3 separate regions of the Homo sapiens genome follow, and regions 1 and 3 are each linked to region 2. The links are contacts of gene promoters, found by promoter capture Hi-C in blood cells and fetal thymus (Javierre and others, 2016). All regions are on one chromosome and are shown on one strand. Each heading gives the region's core, a stretch centred on a gene start or on the middle of the fragment in contact. The rest is flanking DNA. Distances are from core to core; before and after follow the strand shown.

Region 1 (2,700 bases), core at 5-2,504, 250 kb before region 2:
CAATTATAACTGAACACTTCCCCGCTGCTAAAGCCCACAAGGCTAAGACCCCCTGCCCAGTGTGGATGCCCGTCATGAACTCCGAATGGGGACCTCTCTTCCAGCATGGACTAGGTTCTGGACTGCACTGGGTGCTTCATGTACATGGCCTCATTTAATGCAGCAATCTAACCATGGAGGCACTTCTAGCTCATGTTACTGATAGGAACATTGGGGGATAGAGAGGATAAGTGACTTGTCCAAGGTCATACAGCAATAAAGGGTCACTACTGGAACCAAGGACCATATAACTCCAAGGTCTGGCCTGGCCTAGCAAGGAAATCTGTCCATTCCCCACAGCACAGGGAGGCTTTCAAAAGGAATTCAATAGGGGAGGCAGGTTGGGATGGTGGTCAAGAGTATGGGCTTTGGAATGCGAGAGATCGAGGTTCCAATCCCTACTTCACCATTTACCAGCTGGGTGACCTTGGGCAAAAAAAGGGCTGCTTCCCCACCTGTGAAGTGGTGATAATGAGGGTGCCTACCCTGGGGGGAAAGAGGCATTATGAAAGGAGTTGACCTTTGTTCCCTCCCTTCCCATCCCCCAACCCTGCACATGAGAAATAAAGGCAGGGCTGCTGGGGGTATCCCCAACCATGACACTCGCATTGCCCATCCCGTATTTCCCCATTTCCTTCCTCTTCCTCATCCCTCCCCACAACTTCCTTATCCTGTTCATCACCCTGAACAAAAAGCCCGAAGTCTGCCCACAACACAGCCTTCAGAAGTCCCCATGGTACCAGTGGATTCCCAGGAGCAGGAAGGTGGGAAGAGCTCGGGGGGAAGCACGCCTGCCTGTCTCGGGCTGCCCTCCCCACGCGCCTCACCTGCAGAATGGAGGTGCGCTGCTCATTCTTGTGCACCTTGGATGCCAGTCGGTTGAACTCCAGGGCCATGCGGCCCAGGTGGGTGAAGAGCTGGCCGTGGTCCGGCTCCTCGGCACACACACTCAGCGTGGTCTCCAGGCGCTGCAGGTGCAGCATCAGGTTGCCGTCCTCACGGGGCAGGGGGCCCAGCGCCTGGAGAGGGAAAGGGCACACGGCCCACTCTTCACCAAGGCCTGAGTAGGCGCCGCCAGTCCATTCTCCCTCTGCTTCCTCATTTCTCATGACTCAGTTTCCCCCTGTGACCCCAGCTCAGCCCCGGGAAATTCTCCAGTTATGCAGGTTCCCTGTCTGGGGCTGACTCACAGGGCAGAACCCAGGACTCACAGGCCACTGGTGGCTCCACAGCAGCGGGGCCACCATCCTCCCACACACTGGGCCTTGCAGAGTGCCTGACAGTAAGTCACTTGTCTGCTGGACCTCAGCATCCTCATCTACCAAATGTCCGCACAACCCTTCCCTCCCTTCAACCTCACAGGGTTCTTAGGAGGATGAATTGACCCCTGACAGTAACAAGCCCAGAAAAGGGACATCACTGCACAGTCAGCCCTCCATATCCATGGGTTCCGCATCCATGGATTCAACCAACTGCAGATCAAAAATCTTCTAAAAAAACAAACTGGCCGGGCGCGATGGCTCACGCCTGTAATCCCACCACTTTGGGAGGCTGAGCGGGCAGATCACAAGGTCAGGAGATCAAGACGGCCTGAGTGGTGAAACCCTGTCTCTACTAAAAATACAAAAATTAGCTGGGCATGGTGGCACGTGCCTGTAATCCCAGCTACTTGGGAGGCTGAGGCAGGAGAACTATTTGAACCAGGGAGTCGGAGGTTGCAGTGAGCAGAGATCGCACCACAGCACTCCAGCCTGGGCAACAGAGCAAGATTCCGTCCCAAAACAAACAAACAAAAAACTGTATTGAACATGTACAGAATTTTTTTCTTGTCATTATTCCCTAAACAATACAGTATACCAAAATTTAGCATTTACATTGTATTAGGTATCGTAAGTAATCTAGAGATGATTTAAAGTATATAGGAGGATGTGTATAGGTTATAGGGAACTACTACGCCATTTTACATCAGGGACTTGAGCATCCATGGATTTTGGGTATCCTCAGGGAGTTCTGGAACCACTCTCCCATGTTTACCAAGGGACATCTGCATATACGTCCTGCAACCTCCGCCTCCTGGGTTCAAGCGATTCTCCTGCCTCAGGCTCCTGAGGAGCTGGGATTACAGGTGTGCACCACTACACCAAGCTAATTTTTGTATTTTTAGTTGAGACGGGGTTTCACCACAATGGCCAGGCTGGTCTTGAACTCCTGACCTCAGGTGATCCACCCACCTCGGCCTCCCAAAGTACTGAGATTACAGGCGTAAGCCACCATGCCTGGCCTACACATGTGTCTTCTGGGGAATGGCCCAAGCATTCATCAGCTTCTGAGGACCCAAGACTCAAAACAGTTTAAGGAACCACAGCTTTAGCTATTTCAGAAAGTCCCAAACTAGTACAGTATGTAAGAAATAAAGCACACCGTGGGCCAGATAGTTGACTCTTTCTCTCTAGTCTATCTGGAATACTCCTACCAAAGACATTGCCTTTGTTACACCAATTCCACTCCCAAGGACCTGCAGTGTTACCCTACTGCAGACGGCACTGGGCCCAGCTCCCCTGCTGGGCATCTAAGGCCCTACAGCCGCAGGTCCCATCCACAGCAGCATCCAGTTGGGCTCCCCACTTTACCCTGCCTGAACCCACACACACCAGGTCTGGT
Region 2 (2,700 bases), core at 109-2,608:
CATGTCCTTTGCAGGGACATGGATGGAGCCGGAAGCCAGTATACTCCGCAAACTAACAAAGGAACAGAAAACCAAACACTGCATGTTCTCACTTGTAAGTGGGAGCTGAACAATGAGAACACATGGACACAGGGAGGAGAACAAGACAAACACTGGGGCTGGTTGGGGGTGGGGGGCAGGGGATGGGAGAGCATCAGGATAAATAGCTAAGGTATATGGGGCTTAATACCTAGGTGATGGGTTGATAGGTACAGCAAAACCACTATGACACACGTTTACCTATGTAACAAACCCGCATGTCCTGTACATGTATCCTGGAACTTAAAATTAAATTAAATTTAATTTAATTAAAAAAAAAGAGAGAAGAGTTCCATGTGTCTGAGTTTGGGGCAGTAAAGGTGGAGACATGGGGTTAGCACCTTTTGTTTTCTGGATGGATGGCATGGGGGGTTGGGGAGAAGAGGCAGAGAGAATAATGGCAGATGTGTGAGGAGAAGAAGGCAGCCAGAGACTGTGGAAGAAAGAAAGGGAGGAAGGAAAGGGCAGACAGCCTGAGATAGGAAACTGTTCCTGGAGACAAGCTGCTCATGTTGAGGGTGGCTGCTCTAGCTGGGTTCTTCGTAAAAACTGGGAAACAGGGCTAGTAGCCAGAGCCACAGGGATTGACCTCCTTAGATTCTGAAGGTTTCATCTTTTATCCACGCATATCGTGTTAATGGAATAAGCGTGTTAAGGAGATAGATGAAGGAAGACATAGTCCAGAGTTGCAAAAACAGCAGTGCTTGACCTCAGGCCTGGAAGGGCGGTGCGGCCACTTACGATAGTCCAGCTTCTCCAGCAGGATGGACATTCTCTGAAGTAATGCTACTGCTGCTCTCTGAGGGTGACTGAGGTCCGTTGTCCAAGGAGTTCAGCTCACTGTTGTAGTCCCTTCCAAGCAATGACATCTTCAACACGGTGGGTAGGTGGCAGAGGCTCAGGGTTAAGGCTCTGAATGAGCCTCTGATGGGTCTTTCTCCAGAGAAACCATGGCTGCTGACCTGAGATGCTGGCTCCTAACCCCAAGGATGCGTGCTGCTGGCTGAAGCCTGAAGTGCATGAATCAGGGAAGCGGTGGTGGCAGGAGAGGCTGATGTTGATGATGCCTCACCTGGCTCTTGGGGGACTTATGAAAGACCCATCTCAGTCAGGATGGTCCTCAGTTTCACTCGCAATTGCTTGCCCAACCAGGACTTGCCTGGGCTTTTGGCCTCTCCTAGTTTAGCCCTTGCTGCTGTAGGGCAAAGTGAACAGTGTGACTGGGAGGAAGAAGACACCATTGGATTGGAGGTCCTGGTGCCTGGACGTGGGGCCAGGCTCAGTGCTTGTCTGTCTTTGGCAAGGAAAAAACCAGAGCTACCTCACAATGGAGGCTGCCCAGCCAATGAGCTGCAGCAGAATCCTGGGATGCAGATGTGGCCCAACAGAACATAATCCAGCTACCATGTTCCCTGTTTGGGGTGAAGAGTGGCTTGTAAGGCCCAGTTCAAATGCCACCTGCTCAGAATTTCTATACAGGAGGCGTATGGCCTGCCAGTGATTTGGAAGGGAGTGCAGGTCATGTTTAAAAAAAATCATTTGTTCAGAAAATATTTATTGAGCATCTAATATATGCTAGAAACTGTTCTCCATGCTGGGAATATATTAGGGTAGAAAACTTACTACAATCTCTGTTCTCATGGAATTTACAATCTGGAGGGGCTGGGGGAGACAGACAATAAACGAAACAAATATATCAAGTATCTGTTAGTAAAAAGCGGTATAGAGAAAATCCAGGCAAGGGTAATGGAGAGTTTCAGCTAGGGGGAGGGTCGCAATTTTAGATTGGGTGATCAGAGAGGGCCTCACCTAGAAAGTGACATTTGGGCAAAGGGCTGAACAAGATGAGGGAACACAACTCATGTAGGTCTTGGGTAAGAAACTCCTAGCAGAGGGGCAAGAAGTGCAAAGGTCCTGAGGCAGGAGAGTGCCTGGGGTGTTTTAGGAATGGCAATGAGGTCATATGGCTATCTGGGAGCACACAGAGGAGAATGGATTCGCCTGGTTTGTGCCTATTGCCCTGGCATAATTACTAATGGTGCCTCCCTTCATTATTAAAAGTATCCTGCAGCTGAGCGAGGTGGTGCACACTTGTAGACCCAACTACTCGGGAGGCTGAAATGGGAAGATCGATTGAGGCCAGCCTGGGAAACCACCCTAAAAATGAAATAAAATAGGCCACGCTCAGTGGCTCACACCTAAAATCCCAGCAATTTGGGAGGCCGAGGTGGGCAGATCACCTGAGGTCAGGAGTTAGAGACCAGCGTGGCCAACATGGTAAAACCCCATCTCTACTAAAAATATAAACATTAGCCGAGCTTGGTAGCATGTACCTATAGTTCCAGCTACTTGGGAGGCTGAGGCAGGAGAATCACTTGAACCTGGGAGGTGGAGGTTGCAGTGAGCGGAGATCGCACCATTGCACTCCAGCCTGGGTGACAAGAACAAAATTCCATCTCAAAAAAAAAATAAAATAAAATAAAAAGAGATATCCTGGTTTGGATGATAATTACATGGTCACACCAGAGATGTGGTTAAAGAGGTAATGAAAGCGGGATGGAGTGGGTGGGCAGGATCTTGTAGGCTATTGTAACAACTTTGGATTTTACTTTAAGAGAGATG
Region 3 (2,700 bases), core at 143-2,642, 140 kb after region 2:
GTGCCAGTACTATACTGTTTGGATTACTATATCTTTGTAATATAATTTTGAATCGGGAAGTGTGATGCATCCAGTTTGTTTTTCTTTTTCAGAATTGTCTTGACTATTCAGGGTCTTTTGTGGTCTCATGCAAATTTTAGGATTGTTTCTTATATCTCAGTAAAGAATGCCGTTGGGATTTTGATAGGGATTGCATTGAATCTGTATATTGCTTTGGATAGTATGGACATTTCCACAATGTTAATTCTTCTGATCCATGTGCATGGGATATCTTTTCATTTATTTGTGTCTTCTTCAATTTATTTAATCATTGTTTTATAGTTTTCAGTGTACACCCTATTCATGTCCTTGGTTAAATTGATTATTGAGTATTTTTTAATGCTATCACAAATAAAATCATTCTCTTTATTTCTTTTTTAGGTAGGTAATTATTTGTGTATAAAAATATTATTGATTTTTTAATTTTTTTTTGAGATGGAGTCTCACTCTGTCACCCAGGCTGAAGGGGCGCGATCTCAGCTCACTGCAACCTCCGCCTCCCAGGTTCAAACAATTCTCCTGCCTCAGCCTCTCAAGTAGCTTGGACTACAGGCATGCACCACCATGCTGGGCTGACTTTTGTATTTTTAGTAGAGACAGGGTTTCACCATGTTGGCCAAGCTAGTCTTGAACTCCTGACCTCAGGTGACCCACTGCCCTGGCCTCCCAAAGTGCTGGGATTACAGGCATGAGCCACTGAGCCCAGTCATGTATGTTGATTTTTATGTCCTGAAAATTTACTAAATTCATGAATTATAACAGTATTTTTTTAATCTTTGGGGTTTTCTACATATAGGATGATGTCACCTGCAGATAAAGATAATTTTACTTTTTTCTTTCTGATTTGGATGCCTTTCTTTCTTTTGCTTTTTTGGCTGATTGCTCTTGCTAGTACTTCCAGTACTATGTTGAATAGAAGTGGTGAGGGTGGGTATCCTTGACTGCTACTGGATCTTGGTGGAAAAGCTTTCAGTTTTTCCCTATTAATTAAAATGTTAACTGTGTGTTTTTCATAAACGACCTTATTATGTTGAGGAATGTTCTTTCTATACCTAAACTATTGAGAGTTTTTTTTTATCAAGAAGGTATGTTGGGGTGGGGGTTAGGGAAGGAAAAGATGTTGGACTTTGTCAAATGCTTTTGCCAGGCCAATTGAGATAACCATGTGGTTTTCATTTTTCATCCTGTTAATATGATGTATTATATTGCTTGATTAGTGTATGTTAAACCAGCCTTGCATGCCAGGGATAAATCCCACTTGGTCATGATACATAATTTTTTTGATTGTTGTTGAATTCTGTTTGCAAATATTTTATTGAGGATTTTGTACCAATGTGCATTAGCGAAATCAGCCTGTAATTTTCTTTTCTTGTGGCGTCTTTCTCTGGCTTAGGTATCAAGGTGATGCTGGCCTCATAAAATGTGTTTGGAAGTATTCCCTCTAGCTCCATTTTTTGGAAGAGTTTAGTAACAAACCTTCTTCTTTGAATGTTTGGTAGAAGTCAGCTGTGAAGCCATCTGGTCTTGTTGGGAAGTTTAAACAGAAAACCAGAAAGTCAGATAGTCCCTGTCTCATCTTCAATCTCTTTATTTGTTATTAGTCTGTTCAGGCTTTCCATTTCTTCCTGATTTCAATCTTGGTAGGTTGTATTTTTCTAGGGATTTCTCCATTTCATCTGGGTTATCCAATATGTTGGCAAATAATTGTTCACAATAGCCCCATATGATTCTTTTTATTTCTGAAGCTTCTGTTGTAGTGTCTTCACTTTCATTTTTTATTTTATTAGTCTTCTTTTTTTTCTTAGACTAGCAAAGGGTACGTCAATTTAATTTTTTCCAAAAAATCAACTCTAGTTTTATTGATTTTGTCTGTTTTTTTTTCTGTTGTCTATTTGATTTATTTCTGTTCTGCTCTTTCTTTTCTTCTTTTAACTTTGGGTCTTGTGAGCTCTTCTTTTTCCAGTTTCCTGAGGTATAATGTTAAACTATTTAATTGGTCTCTTTCTTCTCTTTTAATGTAGGCATTTATTGCTATAAACTTCTCTCTTAGAACTACTTTTGCTGCATTCCATAAGCTTTGGTATGTTATGTTTCCATTGTCAATTGTCTGAAAATATTTTTTAAATTTCCCGTTTGATTTCATCTTTGACCCACTGGTTGTTTCGAAGCATAGGACTGGGTATGGTGGCTCACACCTATAATCTCAGCACTTTGGGAGGCCGAGGTGGGCAGATCACCTGAGGTCAGGAGTTTGAGACCAGCCTGACCAACATGGTGAACCTCGTCTCTACTAAAAATACAAAATTAGTCGCGCGTGGTGGCACGTGCCTGTAATCCCAGCTACTTGGGAGGCTGAGACAGGAGAATCGCTTGAATCCAGGAGGCAGAGGTTGCAGTGAGCCAAGATTGCACCACTGCACTCCAGATGGGGCAATAAGAGCGCAACTTTGTCTCAAAGAAAAAAAAAAGCGTGTTGTTTAATTTCCACATATTTGTGAATTTTCCAAGATTCCTCCTGTCATTGATTTCTAGCTTCATATTATTATGGTCTGAAAGAATATTAATATGATTTCAATCTTCTTAAATTTAAGGCTTGTTTTTTGGACTAGCATATGGTCTATTCTAGAGAATGTTTCAAGTGTGTTAGAGAAAAAATGTGTA

Evidence for each region. Contacts are between HindIII fragments. The CHiCAGO score rates a contact against its expected background, and 5 or more counts as called.
Region 1: a fragment that was not itself captured here is called in contact with the fragment with the promoter of SLC36A3 in region 2 in 1 of 17 cell types (total B cells); the score reaches 8.8 in total B cells.
Region 3: a fragment that was not itself captured here is called in contact with the fragment with the promoter of SLC36A3 in region 2 in 1 of 17 cell types (M2 macrophages); the score reaches 5.6 in M2 macrophages.

The regions. Positions count from the first base shown.
Region 1 is chr5:151,055,900-151,058,599 of GRCh38, forward strand. It overlaps TNIP1 (TNFAIP3 interacting protein 1), which reads right to left. Exons shown (of 18, transcript NM_006058.5): 6 at 867-1,058. Among named protein-coding and RNA genes, the nearest start is that of TNIP1, 24 kb to the right of the region's middle. RefSeq lists an enhancer at 406-932. The HindIII fragment of the contact is 3,905 bases long and covers 1-2,700 here.
Region 2 is chr5:151,302,408-151,305,107 of GRCh38, forward strand. SLC36A3 (solute carrier family 36 member 3) reads right to left here and starts at 1,359. Exons shown (of 10, transcript NM_181774.4): 1 at 820-1,359. The coding sequence starts at 947. The HindIII fragment of the contact is 21,144 bases long and covers 1-2,700 here.
Region 3 is chr5:151,444,038-151,446,737 of GRCh38, forward strand. It overlaps a transcript of SLC36A1 not described here. Among named protein-coding and RNA genes, the nearest start is that of SLC36A1, 2.2 kb to the right of the region's middle. The HindIII fragment of the contact is 779 bases long and covers 1,004-1,782 here.